Regions from separate parts of the Homo sapiens genome. Here regions 1, 3, 4, 5, 6 and 7 are each linked to region 2. Evidence: promoter capture Hi-C in 16 types of primary human blood cells and fetal thymus (Javierre and others, 2016). All regions are on one chromosome and are shown on one strand. Each heading gives the region's core, a stretch centred on a gene start or on the middle of the fragment in contact. The rest is flanking DNA. Distances are from core to core; before and after follow the strand shown. Region 1 holds the start of PSMD14-DT (PSMD14 divergent transcript). Region 2 holds the start of LINC02478 (long intergenic non-protein coding RNA 2478). Region 3 has its middle 110 kb from the start of TANK-AS1. Region 4 has its middle 200 kb from the start of TANK-AS1. Region 5 has its middle 90 kb from the start of TANK-AS1. Region 6 has its middle 140 kb from the start of TANK-AS1. Region 7 has its middle 160 kb from the start of TANK-AS1.

Region 1 (3,568 bases), core at 319-2,818, 980 kb before region 2:
AGAAAATACTTTTTGTCTATAGTATTGAATGCTTTCTACAATGATAATATATAGTCAGAAATAAAAGCAAAACACTTTCCTTTTAGAAATGAAAAAAATACAAGCAATATCTTCTGCAAATATGGAAAAAGTCTATAGGACTCAAAATGGGTGATATCTATTGTTTACTCCTTGTCTAGGTTCTCATAAATTATTCATGGAAATCCTATCGTACTAATAATTATTTTTCCTTCATTACTCCTTTGCATTCCTTTTCAGAGAGTGACAGGTATTATACTCTGCAGGCATTTATATTATAGAGTATTCTTTATAATAGATATTTTCTTAAGCCATGTTTACATGATTCAAAAAAAATCACATAAATAAAAAACAGTTACATTGGCTAAATTAGAGTATTTCTACACAAACCAATAATTTTAGCTTGAACTTGAACTGACCAACTTGAATGGACCAATTACTTTAGGATTATTTTTAAGATTAAAGTAAAGAAAATTATGAAAATCAACAGTTTCCTTCAGTTATTTAGAGGAAAAAATAATTACAAAAAAGTCTTCAATGAGACAAATTAATTTTACAAAAAATAGCAATTAGGCAATTGATATAATATTATATATATCTATCAATCTGTAGATAGAGATACAGATATAAAAAACCCAGGGATACACTAATAAACTACAGAACTTGTGTAGGACCCATATGAAGAAATTACAAAATTTTCAAAGGATCATTAAAATTTTTGAAAACTTTCTATGTGAGTAAATATTTTAAAGCTGTCCCATCATTTATAAATTTAATGTAATTCAGCGTAGGATTTCCAATAAATTTTTAAAATTAGCTATGACATTAAATTTCTTTTAATTGGGCAGCCTCTGAATCAGAATAGGTCTAGAGAGAGTCCTAAAATTTTTTTATTATGAAAATAATATGGGCTTCTCCTGAAAAATTCAGGCCATGCAGAAGGTGTTAAATGAAAAATATTGTCCTTGGCCTACATCCTAACTCCTCAATCCAACTCCCCAGGGGTAAATCATTGTAAATAGCTTTAAAAAAATTGTGGTAGGGCCAGGCAAGGTGGCTCACGCTTGTAATCCCAGCACTTTGGGAGGTCGAGGCGGGCAGATCACGAGGTCAGGAGTTAGAGACGAGCCTGACCAACATGGTGAAACCCCGTCTCTACTAAAAATAAAAAAATCAGCCGGGCATGGTGGCGTGTGCATGTAATCCCAGCTACTCAGGAGGCTGAGGCAGGAGAATCGCTTGAACCCAGGAGGCAGAGGTTGCAGTGAGCCGAGATTGCGCCACTGCACTCCAGCCTGGGTGACAGAGCGAGACTCTGCGTCAAAAAAAACAATTGTGGTAAATAAAACATATTGTTTTAAACATTTTTAAGTGTACAGTTCAGTAGCATTAGGTACATTCACATTGTTGTGCAACTATCACCACCATCCATCTCCAGACTGTTTGCATCTTGCAAAACTGAGACTCCCCTGTACACCTTTAACAACAACCCCCATTGTCCCCTTCCCTCAGCTCCTGGCAACCACCATTCTACTTGATGCCTCTATGAATCTGACTACTCTAGGTACCTCAGATGAGTGGAATTATGCAGTATTTGTCCTTTTGTGTGTAAGTAGCTTTTTAATAATCTTTTTCAAATATTTTTTTCAAAGACATTTACCAAAATTTTATGACTAATGCTTGTTCATAGTAGAAAATCCAAACTACCTAAGAAGTTTCTTTATAGTAAAGAGCAAAATTTCCTCTTCTCCACAATGTCCATTCCCATTAACCAAAGCTAACCATTGTTAATACTTTTTTTGGCCAATCTTCCAGAATGTTTATATGTATCAATAAGGAACAGCCTCACATACACATGGGCCTGCACACACACTTCTATGCTTTTTCTGACTTTTTTAATTTTAAGAAGGCTAATATATATATTGTTGTACAATTTGCTTTCTTCACTTAATATATCTTGAGTATTTTTTCACAGCAAAACATATGTTCTTAAGTGAATCTTTTTTTAACTTAATAATGTAATTCAGAATAATATGAACGAATAGTCAAGAATGACAAAGAAAATTTTGGAAAGGAAAACTACTGAAGGACTTGCAATACTAGATATAAGACTGTATTATTTAAATATTGTGATAAAGGTAGAAAAATAGAGAAATCAGTGGAGTGGAAATTAATCTCAAGAGAGGTCTCTAGAAGATAAAACCTTTCAGCTAAATTCAAAAATCTTAAAATCAGTAGGAAAAAACTATATTATTCAATAAACTTGCAGGGACAAGCTGAAAAACAAGAATCCAATCCTCTCCTCACATGATAAACCAAAATAAATTGCAGACATATTAAAGCACTAAATGCATAAAATGAAAACAAAAAAAAATCATCAAATATGTAGGAGAAAACAAAAGTGAATATTTTAGCAGGTGGTCATGCGTGCCTGTAGTCCCAGCTCCTCTGAAGGCTGAGGCTGGAGGATCACTTGAGCCCAAGAGGTTGAGGCTCCAGTGAGCCATGATCGTCCCACTGCACTGCAGCCTGGGCGATAGAGCAAGATCCTGTCTGAATAAAAAAATAAAGAAGTCAATAAAAAATAATAAAAGTGAATATTTATCTAACCTTTTGTGAGGAAGATTTTCCTTTTTTTCTTCAGAGATGGAGTCTCACTCTGTCGCCCAGGCCTCCGCCTCCTGGGTTCAAGTGATTCTCCTGCCTCAGCCTCCTAAGTAGCTGAGACTATAGGCATGTGCCACCATGCCTGGCTAATTTTTGTATTTTTTATTAGAGACGGGGTTTCACCATGCTGGCCAGGCTGGTCTCGAACTCCTGACCTCGTGATCCACCCACCCCAGCTTCCCAAAGTGCTGGGATCACAGGCATGAGCCACCGCGCCCGGCCATGAGGAAGATTTTCTACAAGTAAAGGTAGAAATGTTAATGAAAACACTTGAGAAATTGACAATTTAAAAGTGAAAAAGTCAATAACAAAATATGATAAAGTTTAGCTTAGAAAGATCCTTGTAAAATGTATGGCATAGTGTTACTATGGCAATTTTACATAAACACCTTTCTTTATAAAAAATAAAAAAAATACAAACACCCCAACAGAAAAAATGGGTGTTGTATAGGAATAAGTACACTATAAAGCAATATTATAAATGGCAAACAATATATGAAATTTAAAATTTTTCAAGTAAGCAAAATAACTAAAAGTAAAAACAATTATTTTTTCAAACATCAAATTCGAGACCATTAAAAACCTGTTAACATTTAGTGTTGGTGAAGATTAGGATAAACAGACATTCTCATGTACTTCCATTTTGGAAGGCACTTTAGTCTACGTATCAAAACTCATAAAAAAATCCTTTTTGACCCTAAAATTCCCCTTTTAGAAATTTATCTGGAGGAAGTAATTATAAATGTATGCAAATATTTGTCCACAGAGATGTTCACATAACATTGTTTATGATATAGAAAAATTAGCAATTATTGGCCGGGCATGGTGGCTCACGCCTGTAATCCCAGCACTTTGGGAGGCCTAGGTGGGTGGATCATTTGAG
Region 2 (3,435 bases), core at 625-3,124:
CTAACTTGATGTACTAGATTTAGTGTAGGTAGTGTTGGGGTTGGGGATGGGGGTGGGGGAGGGGAGTCACTGAATGTTTTGTCCTTCCTTTATACTAATGATAGTGCTTTAGAATGAGAATTATGCCTGAAATCTGGCAAACCGAAAAATGTTGCTATTGCAACAAAGTGGCAAAAGCTAAAAGTAAGGATTTATCTTCAAACATAAGCTGAGATAACGAATAGAAGCAAAACGATTGGCTACTAGCTCTCTCTCTCTCTCTCTATTAGGTAAATTTGAAAAATAAAAATGACTTGGCACTTTTAAAGGTAACTTCACCAAAGACCGAAGAGCCAGTAACCAGTAGCTCCAACTTGTCTCAGCATCACATCTTCTGTGCTCTTTATTTTTGCCGGACCAGTTTGCGGTTAGGAGAATGTGCCTTTTTTGTACCTTTGCATTTAGGTTTTATAATTTTAATTGATGTATGGACACACACAAACAAAAAAGCATGAAGGAAGATTTGGATCCAAGCAGTGCCACACTTTACATCATCACTACAAGTGTTCAAGTGTAAAGAAAACCAATTTTGAAACTATGAAATTCCTGATTCATAAATACACAGTTATTTCTACTTTAGTACATATAAGATAATTCACTGTTATTAAAGCTCTTTTATTAAGGCAATTGCATATGTTTTAAAAGCAATGGTAAATTAAGTTGTCTTCCAAAACTGTGTACTTGTCTGGTCAGCTGTGTATGATCAGTTATCTACCTCAGAGTCTATTTTCTTTTGTGCTGGGACAGGTTGCTGGCCCTCCCTGTTTCCACAGACCAAATCCTCCTAGCTCAGGAGCTAGGGCTAAGCAGTTATTTCTTTCAAGTATTTTTTAGTTCTTAAATTTTATGCTTGTATTTGATGATAGATGTCAGTGACATTTCATAGTTTCAAAAGTCCTTGCTGCTCTGAGAAGTGTAGATTCTAGTGAAAATTACATAGTCATAAGAGAAATGTGTTTTTGTTTTTGTTTTTGTTTCATTTTTTTAAAGTTGTGGTATTATTGGTTCTATGCTCCCTGGAATATTACTGCTTTGTGAAAGTCCAGACTGAACGCAGCACCCTCTGTGTACCTAGTACAGTTATAAACCTGGGTCTCTCACTACTTGATATTTTTGCATTAGTTAAGACAGAAATTTGATAGCTCGGTTAGAGGGGAGGGGAAATCTGCTGCTAGAAATGTCTGAACTAAGTGCCATACTCGTCTGGGTAAGATTTGGGAAACATAACCTCTGTACATAAAAAAAAAAAAATCAGTTAAACATCACATAGTAGACAGCCATTAAATTATAAAAAAATTAATTTATGAAGAAAGACCTTTTGTACAGATTGAAAAAAAAAGATTTTCATAGAGATATCTATATGATCAAGAGAGTTAATTTTTTATTTTTGTTTTACTAGTGCCACAGACTTGCCAGTGGTAACTTATTTGTCCGGTTCAAGATAACTCTGTAGTTTTCTTTCCTAGGACTTGTTGTTAAACGCCAAAAGACATTTTTGAACTGTACATTTGATCAGATTGTTAGCTTTTCTGTTTTATTTCTTTTGAGAACCTTTGAATAAAAAACATCTGAAATTTTATTTTTCCTGTCAATTTTTTTTAAGTCGATTAAGTGTATATCAGAATTTCATTTCATTTCTGATCTCTTTCTTCAGCTCAGTAGATTGGTTTGAAAGTGAGTTGAAAGTTATGTCAGATTCAATATATCCTCAAAATACATTTCCTTGAAAACAATTGGAAAAACCTTTCCACCCCACTTTTGCTGGTTATTTAAATCTGTGTAATGACCAGAGACGTCAACCCTCAGCTCAGCACGTCAACCGTCAGCTCAGCACGTCAACGGTCGGCTCAGCAAATATCCAGCCCAAAATACACCACTAGTGGTCTGTTCTTAAAGACCAAAAAACCAGGCCCTTTTTCTTCCTCCTTTCTTGCTGCTACGCCTCAACTATTTCATTGCTTGTCAATGCTCAGCAAGGAAGACAGCCTAACAGCAGCCCTCCCACCTGTGGTAAGGAAGCATGTGGGCGAGAACCTCGGGATAATCTTATCTATGCGTTTATGACCAAGGTCCTCTTTCAGAGCTACCTGTTCAGCTGTTCCCGACTGGAGGCTCCCGTGCAGCATTCACGGAGGAGCGAGAACTCCTCTTTCCCTCACTTGACTGCTTTATAGGAGGCACTTAATATGCAAAATAGGCTCCTTCTGCCCAAAGTGGAGTAAACGTTTTAGTGTGGTGGTTCAGTATTTATTTCCTGGTGTCCAGTGGCTCTGTCATGGTGATAAAAAGAGTGGGCAAGGAAAAGATGCAGTCCGCTCCATTTCTGGCTGCGTCCCCTGCCATGTGGATGGTGTGCGGGGTGAGTTAGATAAGGGAGGGGTCAGAGCACTTAACTTGCCGGAGCCAAGAAATCGCTGGTACTTGATGGCTGTTTCAGAGAAGGAAACAACATTCCTCTGATGCTAACTGGTGCTTCTGAGAGCAAAATGTCAGGGAGGAGAGAAGCATGGCCTCTCGAGACAAACCCAGGCTGCTAAGAATGTAAGCTCTGGTCTCACTTTGCGTTCCAGCCAAACACCTAAGTGCTCCTTTCTATGACCAAAGGTAAGAAAGAAATGCAATTCAGGCTCCTGGGCACCTTCGTTTTTGTTCACCCTATTTTTGTTGTAGCTTCTCGCCGCTGAAGTCCGCGGCCCTCTATCTGGCTGTGTTATGTACTGAAACCGGTAAACATACTCAGGAGCACCAATCCACGGAAAAGGGAGGATCAAGCCAGCGATGGTGGTTCACAGTTACCGCTCCCATATAACTAGAGGGGTTGTGGCATGTTTGGGGATAAACCCCACCTAGCTGAAAGCTCTGAGACTGAAGTGGAATTCTGGGGTTGGAGGAGAGGAAAGAGGGTGTGGCCGTTGCTCTGTGGTCTACGTATTTTCCCCTCTATAGTGGCTGGAATGAGGAAAGCCAGGGAGTGGAGGCGGGAGTCCCGTTTTTCACCCCACTGCCACACCCTTCATGGCCAGTGGCTCTAGGTTTATCCGCTGGAGCTTAAATCCCACAAATACTGATTTAAAATTCACTAGGAGAAAGGCAGTGCCTCCCAGCCTGAGCCGGGGCTCAATGAATGTTAAGATATGACTGATTATATCCTCATTCCATTAGGGTAGCCAAAAAGGAAAAGAGCCAGCGCCATTGGGACAAAGGTCACCGACCTCTCAATCGCCCTGCCCCTTCCACAAAAAGCCTGAGATGTCAAGTAGGTGGGGGAGGGAGGAGAGCCGGGAGCTCAGGATTTGAGGAAGGCCAGGCAGTCTCTGCCCCTCGAATAGCAACGCGATGAGCTCAGCCCCCTCAGTCCAGGCCGAGAGCCAGATGGGGGTCACGTGGCCGCGGGGC
Region 3 (3,261 bases), core at 142-2,641, 780 kb before region 2:
GACTTTAGGGATTTTGATCTTTCAGGATTTCATCATTTAGGATTATGTTGTACAAGACTGTGTCAACATTATAATCAGCTCCCCCTTGATAATACATTTTTGGAATTTAAACTACTTGATATTAGTGACCCCACCTTGAAGTTCTCCTCTCTCTTAAATTCTGTTCACTTCAGCATTTGGATTCCTGTTTCTTCTTTGGTCAAATCACTTCTTGCTCTTGATGTTCTTGGCTAGCTTCTGTTCTTCTACCATTCATTAATTATGATGGACATTCCTTAAGCTTTAGGAATTCTTCCCCTTTCTTTGTGATGGTATAAATTTCTGTGACTTCAATTATTTTCTCCATGGGAATGATTCTTACGTTCATGTCCTTCTTAGTATCTGTATCCTGCTGGTTCTTGAAACTTAACATTTGTAAACTAGGTTAATCATTTTTGCTGTTAAACGTGTCCATTCTCCTGACTTTCCAGATTCTTCCAAAGTCATCACTATTTTGCATTACTATATTTCAGTCTCAAACTCATCTCTGATGTCTCCTATGTCTTCAATCCCATATCTCCAATAAGCCATTATATCCTATTGAATTTTCTTTGAAATTGCTCTCACTTCTTTTTTCACATGCCTTTCACATGGCGGCCTCCCTAATCAAGACCTTTATTTAGCTCTCGTCTGTTCTATTGCAATAATTTTCCAGCATCTAGCCTCTTCTGCCTTCTAATATATCTTTCACACCACTGCCAGAGTGATCTTCTCAAACAACTCTGATTATATCTGATTATGTCTTTTCTTTATTCAAAATATCTTTAATGACAGTTTCATGCCTAGTTAAGAAAGTCCGTATCATTTGCTTGACAGTCAAGAACCAGATATAACAATTTTTCTTTTCATTTTTATCTCCCATGGTTCTATGCATATACCCTGAATGTCTCATTTCCCAACACACTTTCCATTCTTTCATCTCCACACTTAAAAAAAAAATTCTCCATCCTGCTTGAGTTGCCCTAGATCACTCCTCTGTCTTCTTCACCTCCAGTTCTACTTATTAAAGTGCTTTCCATTCAATGCCCTGTTCTGATGCCATCTGCTCCATGAAGACTTTCCTGATGACTGCAGCCAGGAATGGTCTCTCTCTCTCTAAACTCCCACAGTCTTCTATCTGGGCCATGAGAATTACTGCCTTCTGCTTGTTACCTGACCACATGTATTCTATGAGATGGTAGCTCCTTGAGCATGAATACATGTCTAATTATTCTTCACATTCCTCACAATATTTTGCTAAGGGCAGATGCTGAGTCAGTATTTGTTGACTGTGGGACGCCCCCAGCTTTGATACTGCACTTCTTTTGTCCAGAGTATTGCATTAACATCTCTGCTATGAGAACTTCAGCAGGAATAAAGAAGAAGCTGAAAATCTGCCATTTAAATAATAGGTGGCAGCTCTGTGATGTGTCTGCCATTTATCTGTCTTTCTTTTGGATGGTAAAAGAGTATAGGCAATAAATCAAGGATTGAAGAGAAGAGAGTTAAATCCCAATTTTGGCCTCATCACTAGTCTTTCTGCAATATGCACACATCCTTTCTTTCTTCACTTTCTTCTTCAAGGAAATTGGCATCACTGGGCTACTTCAAAGGAGCCATGGTGATAACTACCAATTACATTGACACTTCAAAGTGTTAAGACCATGTGGCTGTCACTTTGGCACATTGTGCTTTCTTCCTTCTGAATTCTCATGACTTTTCCTGGATTCCTTACTAACTTACACATACTACAGTGTATTGGATGGTGGTCCTGAAAACATATGTACACATCCTAATCGCTGGAACCTGTGAATATTACCCTATGTGGTAAAAGAGCAAATATTACCTTATATTGCAAAAGATGTGATTAAGTTAAGAATCTTGAGAGGAGGGGTTTATCCTGAATTATCTGAATGGGCACTAAATGCCATCACATATATCTTTATAAGACAGACAACACAGAAGAGAAGGCAATGCAAAGAAAGAGATAGAGATTGGAATGCTGAAGCTACAAACCAAGCAACACTGGGGTTGGCAGCCACCCTTAGAAACTAGGAAGGAGTCATTGAAAGAAATCTACCCTAGAACCCTTGGAAAGAGTGTGGTCCTCTCAGCATCTTGGTTTTGGACTTCTGACCTCCAGAATTGTGAGAGAATACATTTCTGTTTTAAGCCACCACATTTGTGGTAGTTTGTACAGCAGCTCCAGGAAAAAAAATATACCTATTCCATCCTGTGATACATCTTATGCTGATATTTAATATTTGCATCCATGTTTTGACTTTCTTACAAGCTACTTAACAACCACTATGCTTAAAACTTTCCCTTTCGACAGGTATTGATTGAGATTCTACTACGTGCCAGGTACAATTTTAGGTCCCAAGGTTACAAAACCAAAAAAGATCTCATTCCTGCCCTCAAAAAAGTCATAATCTTTAGGGGATAAGGTAGTCTAAGTGAAGCAGGGGCAGGTAAGGAAGCTTCCTGGATGAGGTGACATTAAACTGAGTTCCAAAGATTGAATTGGGATTAACTAGGCTGGGGGAGTTAGGAGATAGAACAATTTTAGGCAACGAAGACATCATGAAGAAGGTCACAGAACCCAGACCTCATGGTGTGTATCTTGTGTGGACAGGGATTGGTGGGAATTGCAGCTGGAAAGTTAGGGAATAGCCAGATCACTGAGGCTTTATGTTCTTAGAAGAAGGGGAGAAACCAAGTTTTAATCTCAGTTAAACTACTCATAGCAAGTGGAAAGTTTTAACCATATAGTCAGTACTCAGTAGATGTTCCCTGAATGACTCTGTATTAAAATAGATGCAATTTGTAATAAAAGTTGGTAGCAATTGGTATAAAAAAACCCAATGTTTTCTTACTGAATAGTGTCTAAATCTGTTGGTTATCTGTAAGAGTGCAATGAGGATAATTATGGGATAAATAAAATTCACAGACATGTTTTTAAATACTGAACAATATAATGGATATTTTACAACTTGCTACCTTTCAGATTGGTTATATGAGGTCCATAAAGCAAGTTTGTTCAGTGCCATGCATATTAATGAAAAGCCATTTGGAGAGTGGAGGACCCATACAGTGGTGCTGCTGTGAAGATGTGAAGGCGTCTCCCCAAGAACACATCTTACCTACGGATGACACTCCTGTGCAAGAAGATGGAGAGGCAGAATTTCAAATGGTGGCAGTGAAACCTAAAGCCACCGGGGGCTTTGGATGTGAGCCTATCAG
Region 4 (3,321 bases), core at 415-2,914, 690 kb before region 2:
ATGCCTGGCCAGACTTGTCATTCTTAGTTATCTCATTACTGCTACATTCCATACATAGCCTCTGGAGGCGAGGCACTTCAGAGAGTAAACACCAACAACTATGCCCACCTGACACAATGGGCTTTGATCTAATGCCTGGAAGTTAGAGTTATGGAAATTAATGATAAGGGTCTAAGACTCAGGGTACATATACTTGCTGGGACCACTCGTGATGCCCCCTGATGTTCTAGTATCAATCCCTTATTCCTATGGTCCTTTCACCTTGGCAGGCTGCTCTCTTAGACAGATTCCTATTTCGAATGCTCCTTGCCTGGCATTTCTACCATGGACTGTACATCTGGTCCCTGAGACATGCCTTTTTGACCCAATGTGGGAGTGAATTGCATTTACATCCCAGCTGCAGCCATCTCTATGCTCCCATGGACTGCTTGCAATTTATCAGTTGAGTCTAGTTCCTGATGACCAAGCCTTCCAAATTCAGGGGACACATACTTCTGAGAGAAGTGGCAGCAACTCCTTCTACTGGAGACAGGGAGGATCATGGGAATTTTCATCTTGCTCCAGAAAACCTTTTCACGAAATTCCCTTTCTCTGCCCTTTGACCTTTCATAACCTTCCTACTGGTTGATAATTTAAACTTTCTTCAGCACCTTCTTTGACATGTTCACATGATTTCATTACCCCATTCTCTTTATTCTCACCTCTCTTTACTCATACTGAACAATACCCTGGTATTTTATTTTAGGGCTCTGATATTTATTACATTTTAGTGCCTATTTATTCTAGTAACAGTAACTAGTGAGTTATTAAAAATGTCTAAAATTTTTTGTCATTCTTCATGAGATTCTCCTTTAGTATTTGTTATTATGGAATTTTTTTTTCTTAAAAGTTGGAGTGCTTATGATCTATGGCCACCTATGAGGGACATGATTTTTTAAAAGTTTGAATGGAAGTTCTTATGGGAACAAAAATCACTTTTGTGGTGGCCATAAGTGTTAATCCTAACTTTGAGAGATTAGTTTTCACATGGTAGGCATTATATAAATATTGCTGAATAAGGGAGTGGGAAAGAAGCAGTCGGAAATCTGTAATGCTTGCCCTTGAATTGCAGAAGTATTGGAAAGCATTGGAGGAACTATTACCTCTCAAATTTCAAAGAGGAGCAAAACCTTTATAGCATGACTTTTCTGAGTTTCAAGCACATTCTCTTTGGTGTACCTAAAACATTTTATTTATAGATGGTGGTGGTTTGTCTGCTATTATGCTTCCTGAGTTTGTGATATTGTCTTACTTTAAAATGCTTTTCAAGGATGCTTGCATCAGTGTGGTGGGGATTGGGTGAAATTTAAGGTCTCTTCTAATCTAGAGATTCTATACTTTTTTCAGAATTCTGGCATCATCCATTCTCTTCACACTAGTGGTCCAGCAGAATTGAGTTACATAGGACAGAGCTTGGGTCACCTGTGGTGCGATTACTTTCCCAAACATCTTCGCTGGCATTGGTACACTGCCATATGGCTAAGTATAGCATGCAGGTGTCACAGATAAAATCTTCCCAAAACTTTCATGGCCTCAAAAGCCAACAACCTGCTTTGAGAACACTGTGTATTTAATAAAAAAAGTTAGATCTTGGTCCATGTGTGTATCAAGAACTATGAATTATTTAGAATGAAGATATATAGAGGAACATCTTATTCCTTCTTAGCATTAAGGACAGTGTGGAACAGGTATTAGCGGTAGGTTTTTACATGAAAAATTATTCTCCCAAGAATTTACATTTTTCAGTCAAGTTTGCTAGTTTTCTATCAGTTTGTTTATGGAAAAAAACCATATGACAGTAATGGGACTTTTGAGTTATACTTGTTATCAATGACCATGGAACAACTTGCTTGAGTTCTAGGACTTATTGTCTCTATAAAGAAGCATACTTTCTGTTCCACAAAGCTCTGAGTGTTATTTGGTAATAAAATGGTTTTGAGAGAGATAATGTGTTAGGAACACCAGGAGGTATTATCCTCTGTCTTAGCCTCTAAGCATGTTTAAATTTCTATGTTTGAATTTAGTAAATAGGAAACAGGAACATGCACACCCACATTCTAAATGATTGAGAAAGAAGATGATAAACAAGCCACACTTTGCAAAGCATTTTAATTTGGTGAAGAAGCTGAACACAGAAAAGGAAAGGAATATCAATAATACCAAACTACAGTGAACTATATATATTAGCATCCATGTTGTTCTCCTAGTTAATATAAGGACAACATCTTGTATTCTACAGCATGACTGTCACTTATGTTTCCATTTATGAAAAAGTCTAAAAATAGAATTCTGAATTCCTCAAAGCAATTCTGAGTTCCTGACATCAACGATGCCGGATAATTGAGTGCATGAACCTTACCAGGTCTATATGTATATATACATTTACATGCATAAATGTATATGGTGGTGGCACCTCTGCGACATTCTGGCTGCTGGGAATCAACAGTGAGTTGTATATATGTGTACATTTCAGCATAACTCACAGAAATAAGATGGGTCAAAGTGAAAACTATTAAAAAGGAAGTCTCCTGGAATGAATTTTGCTGTGTTGTCCAGTGGAGGCAATTGAATAGACTGATGGATTGGGGCTTCTGAGAACACGACAACAGAAAAATTACAACGAAATATTACTAGGAGCATTCTAGTTAACTCTCACAGGCAAGAGCTCACCATAGACAGGCCCGCCAAGTAGCCTTTTCTAGTTATAATTCACGTTTTTAGGAGAAAGAGTCAGCTAGCTAGTCAAAAAGGGTAGCAATAATTGCACTCTCTGTCAGTGGGAAAATAGGAAAATGAAAAACAGGATAACTTAAGTCAGAAAGGCAGAACTCACTTAGCATATTCTGAAATCTCTCAGTTTGAAGTAAAAAGTAAACATCTCGTTTCCATTGGAAGCAAGAAACAAGTTTTTTTTCTTCATAATGGAGCATTATCGCCTATAAAGAAAAATGAAGCAATGCTGTTTATATGTTTAACGTTTAAAAAAATAAAGACTGACAGTCGCCAGAATGATGGGACAATGGATAAAGAGCAGACCCAAAGATTTCCTTCCCTCCTCTGGACTCCACCCTGCGAGTTTCCCCAGAGAGGAGAACACAGATGTGAATCAGAGCTGGCAGGGTGGAGCTCTGGAAAGCCATCTCCTGGCTCTCTCAGAGCTTGGATCCCAAGAGGATGACTGGCAGCACCACTCTGGCCCTCTGGCTATATTTCTGGAAAGATTCCAGGAACTGCCAGGGCCAACAAACCTCTTTAAGTCATATATATGATTTGGCTGCGAAA
Region 5 (3,574 bases), core at 456-2,955, 800 kb before region 2:
AGGTCTTGGGTTAGTTAATCACTTGGACTTACTGAACTTCAGTTTTCATTCCAGTAGTATGGAGGTAAGAGAACTTGTCCCAGAAAATGTAGAGTGTTGTTGTATGGGTATATACACATGAAGAGGAGCCACATGCCAGATAAACAATGAGCCTGGGAAAGGTGATATTCAAGAAAGTACTCTTCAAATTCGAAAGTGCTATTGAAATATGGGATGGTGATATTCTAAGAATCAAGTTCGGTTTTTCTGAGATTTTCTCCGACTATAACAATTTACTATGTGACCTCCTCTGTAGCGTCAATGTGACAAACTGAGGAATTTAAAGTGTCTTGGAATTATATAAACTTTTCTCATGAATAGACTGTTTTCTATATAGCAGTTTAATAAAATATCTTGTGCTAAGTTGTTTAGATATCCACTTTTCAGGGTTTTTTTTCTTATTGATAATTCCTCATCAAACTGTAAGAGGGAGGGAGGGAGAAAGAGAAAGAAAGAGAGACATTGCGTCTCATTTCCTCAGTCTCCAAATTGTGTAATTTACCACCTTCCAGGCAGGTACTCAAAATTTGTACTTGGGAAAAGGCCTTAATGAGCAAGTGGAAAATGTTTTTATAAAATTAAGGTCAAACTTACAGTTGTGATAACTTAGCAGTCATTACTACCTTTGTAACCCTGAAGGCTGTTCTTAGTCACTTGTGCATGTATACTGTATCTCCCATATGTATCAGTAAGGAGAGGCTGGTTTATATTGTGGCAACAAATAACCCCCAAGTGTTAATAACTTAAAAAAAACAAAGATTTATTTCTTGCTCACATAGGTTTATTTCCTCCTCCAGGATGCTCTCAACAGAGCACCTGCTATGGACTCTTGCTGGTCTTCATGGCAGAGGAAAGATAGCTCTGCAGGCTCTCACCCTGGCCTAGAGTAAGTAAATGCTCTGGCTCAGAAGTGTCGTACACCACCCATTTCCCCAAACACTGGCTGAGATAGTCATGTGGCCCCACCTGACAAAGGAGCCAGGAAATAGAACCCTATCATGGTCCAGAAAGGGGAGAACTAGAAGTATATGGTAAGCATTACTAATGACTGGCATGCCATTACTGCTTGCACAAAGCAGTAATGTGGGTTTCTAAAGTGAATCCAGCATTGCCCAAGAAGGCCAGCAGGCTGATGTGGTGTGATTGTTGGTCTCAGTCTGCCTCAGTGTCAATCTCCCTCATCCACTCTCCACAATATTTCCTACTGAAGCCTGTTATTTCTTTGTCAGAATTTACTCCTTATGTGAATTCTAGGCATAATTTTGTTCTCTTTTAAAATGCATATAAACATTAAGTATAGCATAATTTAGTCTGTTCATCTGATGGTTTTGGGGAGCTGGCTGATGCAGAGTTCTTGAGGATGGAAAAGTTATTTTTGAAAGACTAGAATCTCCTCTGAAGAAGGGGAGAAGGGATGTCTGAAAGTAAGTTATCTGCTTCAAATTATTTCCCAGAATAGGTCCTGACCACCAGGGTGAGGATTTATAGGGCTATGCACCATATATTGTTCCTCAGTTGCAAGCCCTGGAGCAGTCACATAATCGATTCTTGTCCATTTTAGGAAATAGGCCCCAGGAATATCAGGTTTGGGATGCTTGCAGCACAAAATGACAAGGTACATACTGAACTATACATTCTCTGGTGCCCAACACAAATAGAATTTCCATTCTTATAAATGTACAGGAATTAAAACATCATTTCTCTTGAACATTTAAAAATGCTTCCCATTATCTTTAAAAACATCTTAAAATATATTGCAGTTTGTTTTCTAATTATGCAATAAAATCACTCCCAGTTCTGGTATGTTGGTTAAAAGTCAAAACAGCTTGTATTTGAATACAGATATACACATTCAACATTTAAAAGCTGTTTTCATCATGATAATTAGACATTAAATTGTGATTTATATTGTTAAATACTGATTTAGAGTTAACCAAGTAACAGTCTGGAAATTTTGAAGTACTTTTAGAATATTATGTTATATTACGCCCATAATACATCGCATTTTTTTCTTTCCTCCCAAATTTAATGCATTATTATAATTCACATCTTAAAATATTTTGGGTAGGTAATATGTATACATAATACAAATGGCTAAAGTTACAAAATAGTTTTTCAGTGAAAAACAGGTATTTTTTCCTATCCCTGTCCCCTAATCCTCAAATTTCCCCTTCAGATATAACCACTGTTATCAATTTATTGTGTTTCCTTCCAAAGATAGTCAATGTTGCTATAATTTTCTTTTCTTTTCTGTTTTTTTGTTTTTTGTTTTTTTGTTTTTTTTTTTTTTTTTTTTGCTGTTGTTGTTGTTTTTGAGACAGAGTCTCACTCTGTCACCTAGGCTAGAGTGCAGTGGCGCAATCTTTGTTCACTGCAACTTCCGCCTCCCGGGTTCAAGAAGTTCTCCTGCCTCAGCCCCTGGAGTAGCTGGGACTACAGGTGCACCCAACCATGCCTGGCTAATTTTTGTATTTTTAGTAGAGACGGGGTTTCGCCATGTTGGCCAAGATGGTCTTGAACTCCTGACCTCAAGTGATCCACCCACCTCGACCTCCCAAAGTGCTGGGATTACATACATGAGCCACTGTGCCTGGCCGCTATAATTTTCAAGTGTGTGTGTGTGTTTGGTTTGGTTATTTGTTTGCTCTTATACTTTATGTTTTTCATTTAACAGTATGTCTTGGAGATTGTTTCATGTCACTATATACAAAGCTGCTTTATTCACCTAACAACAACATATATTCTATTATTTTAATCTATTATAATTTATTTACCCAGGTCCCTATCAATAGATATTTATGTTGTTTCAAATCTTTTTCTATGTAGACAATCCTGAAAATTATATTCTTACATTTATTTCTATATATATGTGACTTTACAGTAGACATAATCCTAGATTTGGAATGGCTAGATCAAAGGCAGATTTTGTTATAGAAATGTCATTAGCATAAATTAAATTTTATACTGTGACAATAAAATTAAAGACTTTTTTTTTAACCAAGGTGAAGTATTTGTGAAATATTTGTTCCCTTAATTGTACAACTTTGGGCTAACACAGTCAAATGAGTCATCATTTCAGACCTCAAGGGACTGAAATACTACGGGTAAAATGGCAGCTGTTTAGAAAGTACATATCTTGAAAACCATTTTATTGTCATTCTTAAAAGACTTGTTTATTAACCATATAATTGAATCTAAAAGAGATATTCAAATGTTCCTACTTATATATCTGGACTCTGAAAACTCCTAACTATAGAACATTATAATAATAGTTCTTCAAAAGTGAATGCATTTTCGAGTAAAGTTCTGTTAAAAACATCACCAGGATTAATCACATCAAACCTGTCTGGGGGTTTCATAAACAGTTGACAAAGTCAAAACAGTGATGTGCTTTGTTAAAGGGCTCACTGAAAAGCTAATTTGTAAATTGGCCATCACTTAAATGCATGTATCTAAGTTAGCTCACTGAGAACTTCTTTAGACTAGAAAATCCCCTGCTTTAAGCTTCCAAGAAGATACTTGTACTCTTTAGAAA
Region 6 (3,077 bases), core at 58-2,557, 750 kb before region 2:
CAAAGTGGGCACACACTGTTGGAAAAAACAGTGCCAATAGACTTCTTGATGTAGGGTTGCCACAAACCTTCAATTTGAAAAAAATGCAGCATCTGCAAAGTGTAATAATGTGAAGCACAAGAAAATGAAGTGTGCCTGTATATATACACATTATTAAACCACAAAGAGGAATGAAGTATGCCTATATATATATATATATATATATATATATATATATATATATACACACATTATTAAGCCACAAAGAGGAATGAAGTATGCCTGTGTATATACACATTATTAAGCCACAAAGAGGAATGAAGGACTCATACATGCTACAATATGGATGAACCTCAGAAACGTTATGCTAATGAAAGAAGCCAGATACAAAAGGTCATCTATTTTATTTTTCCATTTGTATGAAATATCTAAAATAGATAAATCTGTAGAGACAGAACACAGATTGGTGTTTGCCAGAGGCTAAAGGGATTGGGAAATGGAGAGAAATTTGCTTAGTGGAGTGTTTCTTTTTGGCATAAAATATTTTGGAGCTCAATAGAGATGATGCTCACACAACATTGTGAATGTACTAAATGCCACTGAAATGTTCACTTTAAAATGGTTCATTTTACATCAGTAAATTTCCTTTTTTTCTTTTTTTCTTTTTTTTGAGACAGAGTCTCTCTCTGTTGCCCAAAATGAAGTGCAGTGGCATGATCTTGGTTCACTGGAATCTCTGCCTCCCCAGCTCAAGTGATCCTCCCACCTTAGCCTCCAGAGTAGCTGGGACTACCGGTGTGTGCCACCACACCTGGCTAATTTTTGTATTTTGTTGTAGAGGCTGGGTTTCACCATGTTGCCCAGGCTGGTCTCTAATTCCTGGGCTCAAGTGATCTACCTGGCTCGGCCTTTCAAAGTGGTGGATTATAGGTGTGAGGCACTGTGCCTGGCCTTAGTAAGTTTCTTAAATAAACCTTAGCCATTTGTTATTTTACAAGAATCTGCACAGTTGGCTAGACTCAGTTCTGTTGATCTGGGTGAGGTTCAATGATCTCAAGTGGGCTCATTCATGCATTTGCAGTTAGCTGTGGCATTGATTGGCGGTTGGAAGATCTAGGGTGACTTTGACTTGGATGACTTGGCTCTATTCCACATACTCTCTCATTCTCCATAGGGGACACTGGCTTATTTTCAAGGCAGAGGCAGAGGTTACAACAGCAAGGCCTCTTGAGATGTATGTTCAGAATTGGCATCCGTATTCCCCTCCATTTAGTTGGTCAAAGCAAATTGCAAGACCAGCTTAGATTCAAGGGTTGAGAAAATAAACTTTATTCCTTAATGGGGAAGCTAAAATGTTACTTTACAAAAGAGGTAGATACAGGGAAGGGTGGGGGGAATTTGAAACTGATCTATCATAGTTTTTTTTTTATCCCTAGTGCATGGTGTGCACTCAGTAAGTGTATGTTCAATTAATGAGTGTCATTGAATTTAGGCCAGAAGGGGATCTAGGGTCCCAATTCAACATTTGAAATTATGAGTTCCCATGAGCTGGAAAGAAAAAACAAAAATAGAATTCTTGGAGGTATTGATATACCTTCTCAGATTAGCCTAACTTTTCCAATCATAAATCAGAAGCTCTTTCACTATCTTGTAAGGAGGATGGAATACCCCATCATCATCCTCTCCGGCCCAGCTCTCTCCTTCTCCTCCCTGTTTTGGTTAGGATTTTGAGGACTTCCTGGTGTTAAATTCTGGGTAAAACAAGTTTGGTAGCTATGCTAGTGGTGTAGCTCTCTTAAAAAAACAAATAAACTGGATCTCTAAAAAAAAGTCTGATTTATGGTGTTTGCCGATTTCTATGGTGTAAATAGTCCCGCGATGGCCAATTTCAAGCTACCAGCTTAAAGTGACTGAATGCAGAGCTGGGAAAAGATGTACATTTTTGACTCCTGAGAGTCAACAAGAGCCAACTCCAGCTTACCACTGGATGGCTGTGTGGGGCCCAGCTCAGCAGCACCTTGGCTGCCTTACCCCCTGCTCTTCCAGGACCATCAGAGCCAACGATCTGCTCTGATTTGTTCTTCTGACATTTGAAGTTTTTCTTTCATTTACTCAATGATAATTATTGAGTAACTCTCATATACAATTATGTTAGGCCGTGGAGGTGAAATGATGAACAATGAGAACATGGTGTTCACTCTTATGGAACTCGCATTCTCCGTAACTGAATCAGTACTTCCAGATGCTCCTGAGGGAGTCCTGTATCTCTAAAATTGTTTTCACTGATGCTCTCTCATTGATGGTATCTCATTGTGGTTTTGATTTACATTTCTCTAATGACTGGTGATGATGACCTTTTTTTCATGTTTGTTGGCTGCATAAATATCTTCTTTTGAAAAGTGTCTGTTCATATCCTTCGACCAGTTTTTTATGGGGTTGTTTGTTTTCTTGTAAATTTGTTTAAGTTCTTTGTAGATTCTGGATATTAGCCCTTTGTTATTAGAAGGTGTTAGTATGGTGGGATTTCAACCCAGAAGAAGAATATCCCTATTTTTTAAAAAGTATTCCATCCATAGGATGAGGATGTGGTCACTCACAGAATTGGTATTTACCACAGTCTTTTTGGACTGCTTCTTTCTGGATTGGAACCTAATATTCAATTATAGACCAGCTATATAATTCAATTTAAGGCATTGCTTCATCACAATCTGAAAAATTAGAATTTGTTGAAGCACCACACAGAACGCAAAGAAATCAGAAGGCATGTAACAGCTTTACTGCGTCACATAATATTCAATGTAGTGTAATCAATACATAGCACTCTGTAGAAATAAACCATTCAGATTCTCACACATCTGAAGGAAGAGGAGATCATTCTCAGAAGTGCTTTCTTTTCACTGACTGAATGATAATGACACCCTGGGGGAATCAAATATTCATTTAAAGACAAATACTAAGGCATATATTATCTTTTCTTTTCAGTTGTATATAATGCTTTTTTGGTATATTATTAACCATGGACATATGTTTTCTATTTCACTTTGTTCCCAACACACAGTGTGGTTTTTTCCTTTTTCCACAGGGGATGGCAAGTGGGG
Region 7 (3,252 bases), core at 60-2,559, 730 kb before region 2:
GCTGACCACATATCTATGATTTCCTGAGACTTGAGAGGTAGATGTGTTGTTTACACAATGTAGACTAGGATGTAAATTTCACTCTGTGTTATTAGTCTTTGTATTAGTCAACTATTGCCACAGTAATGCTGCATTCCAAACCACCCCAAAACTAAGTGGTGCAAGCATTTATTCCTCTGCTTGTCAGCTGGAGCTTCGCTAGTCTAACTGTGTTTAGTTGGGCTTCACTGAAAACTGTGGATTGGATGCAGAACTACCATAGCACTTCTTGGGTCAGTAGCTATTTGAGGCAAAGATGGGGTAAAAGAGAGGTGAGCAGAGACATATGACACTGCTTAAGGCCTAGGCTTGGGACTGGGACACTTGCTTCCACCCACCTTACACCGGCCATAGCAAACCACATGGTTAAACTCAACAACGGGGAAGGGAAGAATATTCCTCCAAAAAGGGCAAGTGAATATTAGCTGAATAATTACTTAATTGACCACAAGCTGCTGCTTTTTATAAGTAAATTTAGATTTTTTTAATGGAAAAATAACTACAGATCACCTTGGCATGATTTTTTAAAGGCAGATTACACATTCTATTAAAGATCTCAAAACTTCCAAAAGAAAGAACTTTTTATTGTCATTCATCCTAAGAGTGTAAGTAATGGGCCAAAAAACAAACAAGGCAAAAACAAAACAAAACAAAACAAAACAACCTCACTCAGCTTAAAATATGAAGGAGAAAATATTGCTAATATTACCTTAGCCATAACATTTCAAACCCAATTCTGAATCACAGTTTATAGAAATTGTCATTTGAGTGGCTTTCTTGAGCTCCCACGATACAGTAATTCCACAAGGGGGCAGTTTGTTGTTTCTGATAATGTAGTGTCTGTCTGAATTCTCTTTCTTTTTCCTTTATTACAAAGTCTCCGGGTAAGTAGAGAAATTTTACCTTCATAACTTATTTATGGCTGGGAAGAAGAGTACAACCTTAGAGAGAATCACTGAAGAGAGGCATTGCCAGTCCTCACTGACTCAGGGATAGCTCTCATTCATGCTTCCAAGGATCAATGAGAATAGCTTTCCTTAATTTAGAACAGGGAGATGCTGACCTTTATATGTACTTCCTGGCTTTTTCTTTCTTGATGTAAGATTCTCCCTTAAAACGGGAATGACACAGCCTATGTCTCTAAGACTTAATGAACAACACGCCACAGGCAGGTCGTGGGGCCATCTTGATGGGAAAGAGCACGGGACTTTGTCTCAGTTGGCCACAGTTTGAATTCTGATGGCTATTAATGAGCTGTCTGCCCTTGGGAAAGTGATCTGACTTCTCTGAGCCAAGTCACCTTATCACTAAAGAGAGTATACTCATGTCTATCTCACAGCACTGTGTGTTTCACACAAATTAGCCCTCAGAATTAGCTACCTACAAAATGGAGGGTATTCATCAGTGTACTTGAGTAGGAGAAACTAAGAGAACTCTGGTTCTAGAAAGTTTTCAGTCCATGGAAGAACCACCAAAATAAAGTGAAGAGCACCCTTTGATTTTAATCTTGGATGGCATCTGTACAAAATTAAATAGAAGAGAAGCAGAGAGGAGTGAGTTTCCAAACACTCAGATGTTATAAGAATTGTTCACAGTCATTGATTTTATACCTTGAAATCCTACAAGTTTCGAAAAGGCTAATTCAGACAATATGCTATTCCTTCCACTGATGTTAGATGGATGGGAGTGGTACAGGATGGAGAAATAAAAAACAAATACACCAATCAGATGCAGATTTGGTCTTTTCACATAGTCCCATATTTCTTGGAGGCTTTGTTCATTTCTTTTTATTCTTTTTTCTCTAAACTTCCCTTCTCGCTTCATTTCATCTTCCATCATGGATACCCTGTCTTCCAGTTGATCGCATCGGCTCCTGAGGCTTATGCATTCTTCATGTAGTTCTCGAGCCTTGGCTTTCAGCTCCATCAGCCCCTTTAAGCACTTCTCTTTATTGGTTATTCTAGTTATACATTCGTCTAAATTTTTTTCAAAGTTTTCAACTTCTTTGCCTTTGGTTTGAATTTCCTCCTGTTTGATCATCTGAAGCCTTCTTCTCTCAACTAGTCAAAATCATTCTCCGTCCAGCTTTCTTCTGTTGCTGGTGAGGAACTGCATTCCTTTGGAGGAGGAGAAGCGCTCTGCTTTTTAGAGTTTCCAGTTTTTCTGCTCTGTGTTTTCCCCATCTTTGTGGTTTTATCTACTTTTCGTCTTTGATGATGGTGATGTACAGATGGGTTTTTGGTGTGGATGTCCTTTCTGTTTGTTAGTTTTCCTTTTAACAGACAGGACCCTCAGCTGCAGGTCTGTTGGAGTTTGCTAGAGGTCCACTCCAGACCCTGTTTGCCTGGGTATCAGTAGCGGTGTCTGCAGAACCGCGGATTTTCATGAACCGCGAATGCTGCTGTCTGATCGTTCCTCTGGAAGTTTTGTCTCAGAGGAGTACCCGGCCGTGTGAGGTGTCAGTCGGCCCGTACTGGGGGGTGCCTCCCAGATAGGCTGCTCGGGGGTCAGGGGTCAGGGACCCACTTGAGGAGGCAGTCTGCTCGTTCTCAGATCTCCAGCTGCGTGCTGGGAGAAACACTGCTCTCTTCAAAGCTGTCAGACAGGGACATTTAAGTCTGCAGAGGTTACTGCTGTCTTTTTGTTTGTCTGTGCCCTGCCCCCAGAGATGGAGCCTACGGAGGCAGGCAGGCCTCCTTGAGCTGTGGTGGGCTCCACCCAGTTCAAGCTTCCAGGCTGCTTTGTTTACCTAAGCGAGCCTGGGCAATGGCGGGCGACCCTCCCCCAGCCTTGCTGCCGCCTTGCAGTTTGATCTCAGACTGTTGTGCTAGCAATCAGTGAGACTCTGTGGGTGTAGGACCCTCCGAGCCAGGTGTGGGATATAATTCTCCTGGTGCGCCCTTTCCTAAGCCTGTCGGAAAAGCGCAGTATTCGGGTGGGAGTGACCCAATTTTCCAGGTGACGTCTGTCACCCCTTTCCTTGAGCAGGAAAGGGAACTCCCTGACCCCTTGTGCTTCCCGAGTGAGGCAATGCCTCGCCCTGCTTTGGCTTGCGCATGGCACGCTGCACCCACTGTCCTGCGCCCACTGTCTGGCACTCCCTAGTGAGATGAACCCGGTACCTCAGATGGAAATGCAGAAATTACCCGTCTTCTGCGTCGCTCAGGCTGGGAGCTGCAGACTGGAACTGTTCCTATTCGGCCATCTTGACTA

What was found. Contacts are between HindIII fragments. The CHiCAGO score rates a contact against its expected background, and 5 or more counts as called.
Region 1: a contact is called between the fragment with the promoter of PSMD14-DT here and the fragment with the promoter of LINC02478 in region 2, in 4 of 17 cell types (neutrophils, activated CD4 T cells, monocytes and 1 more). The highest score is 12.7, in neutrophils.
Region 3: a fragment that was not itself captured here is called in contact with the fragment with the promoter of LINC02478 in region 2 in 6 of 17 cell types (fetal thymus, naive CD4 T cells, naive B cells and 3 more); the score reaches 7.2 in fetal thymus.
Region 4: a fragment that was not itself captured here is called in contact with the fragment with the promoter of LINC02478 in region 2 in 10 of 17 cell types (total CD4 T cells, naive CD8 T cells, naive CD4 T cells and 7 more); the score reaches 13.2 in total CD4 T cells.
Region 5: a contact is called between a fragment that was not itself captured here and the fragment with the promoter of LINC02478 in region 2, in 4 of 17 cell types (M1 macrophages, naive CD4 T cells, total CD4 T cells and 1 more). The highest score is 6.4, in M1 macrophages.
Region 6: a fragment that was not itself captured here is called in contact with the fragment with the promoter of LINC02478 in region 2 in 7 of 17 cell types (total CD4 T cells, naive B cells, total B cells and 4 more); the score reaches 8.9 in total CD4 T cells.
Region 7: a contact is called between a fragment that was not itself captured here and the fragment with the promoter of LINC02478 in region 2, in 6 of 17 cell types (naive CD4 T cells, activated CD4 T cells, non-activated CD4 T cells and 3 more). The highest score is 7.2, in naive CD4 T cells.

The regions. Positions count from the first base shown.
Region 1 is chr2:161,252,643-161,256,210 of GRCh38, reverse strand. It overlaps PSMD14-DT (PSMD14 divergent transcript), which reads left to right and starts at 1,568. Exons shown (of 4, transcript NR_110593.1): 1 at 1,568-1,626. The HindIII fragment of the contact is 9,629 bases long and covers 1-3,568 here.
Region 2 is chr2:160,270,334-160,273,768 of GRCh38, reverse strand. LINC02478 (long intergenic non-protein coding RNA 2478) reads left to right here and starts at 1,874. Exons shown (of 2, transcript NR_103775.1): 1 at 1,874-2,049. It overlaps RBMS1 (RNA binding motif single stranded interacting protein 1), which reads left to right. Exons shown (of 14, transcript NM_016836.4): 14 at 1-1,618. RefSeq lists an enhancer at 3,057-3,435. The HindIII fragment of the contact is 15,786 bases long and covers 1-3,435 here.
Region 3 is chr2:161,050,441-161,053,701 of GRCh38, reverse strand. It overlaps the pseudogene LOC100131736. Among named protein-coding and RNA genes, the nearest start is that of TANK-AS1, 110 kb to the left of the region's middle. The HindIII fragment of the contact is 2,218 bases long and covers 283-2,500 here.
Region 4 is chr2:160,956,553-160,959,873 of GRCh38, reverse strand. No RefSeq gene overlaps it. Among named protein-coding and RNA genes, the nearest start is that of TANK-AS1, 200 kb to the left of the region's middle. The HindIII fragment of the contact is 4,861 bases long and covers 1-3,321 here.
Region 5 is chr2:161,068,413-161,071,986 of GRCh38, reverse strand. No RefSeq gene overlaps it. Among named protein-coding and RNA genes, the nearest start is that of TANK-AS1, 90 kb to the left of the region's middle. The HindIII fragment of the contact is 3,681 bases long and covers 1-3,545 here.
Region 6 is chr2:161,018,645-161,021,721 of GRCh38, reverse strand. No RefSeq gene overlaps it. Among named protein-coding and RNA genes, the nearest start is that of TANK-AS1, 140 kb to the left of the region's middle. The HindIII fragment of the contact is 3,986 bases long and covers 1-3,077 here.
Region 7 is chr2:161,002,169-161,005,420 of GRCh38, reverse strand. No RefSeq gene overlaps it. Among named protein-coding and RNA genes, the nearest start is that of TANK-AS1, 160 kb to the left of the region's middle. The HindIII fragment of the contact is 2,921 bases long and covers 1-2,769 here.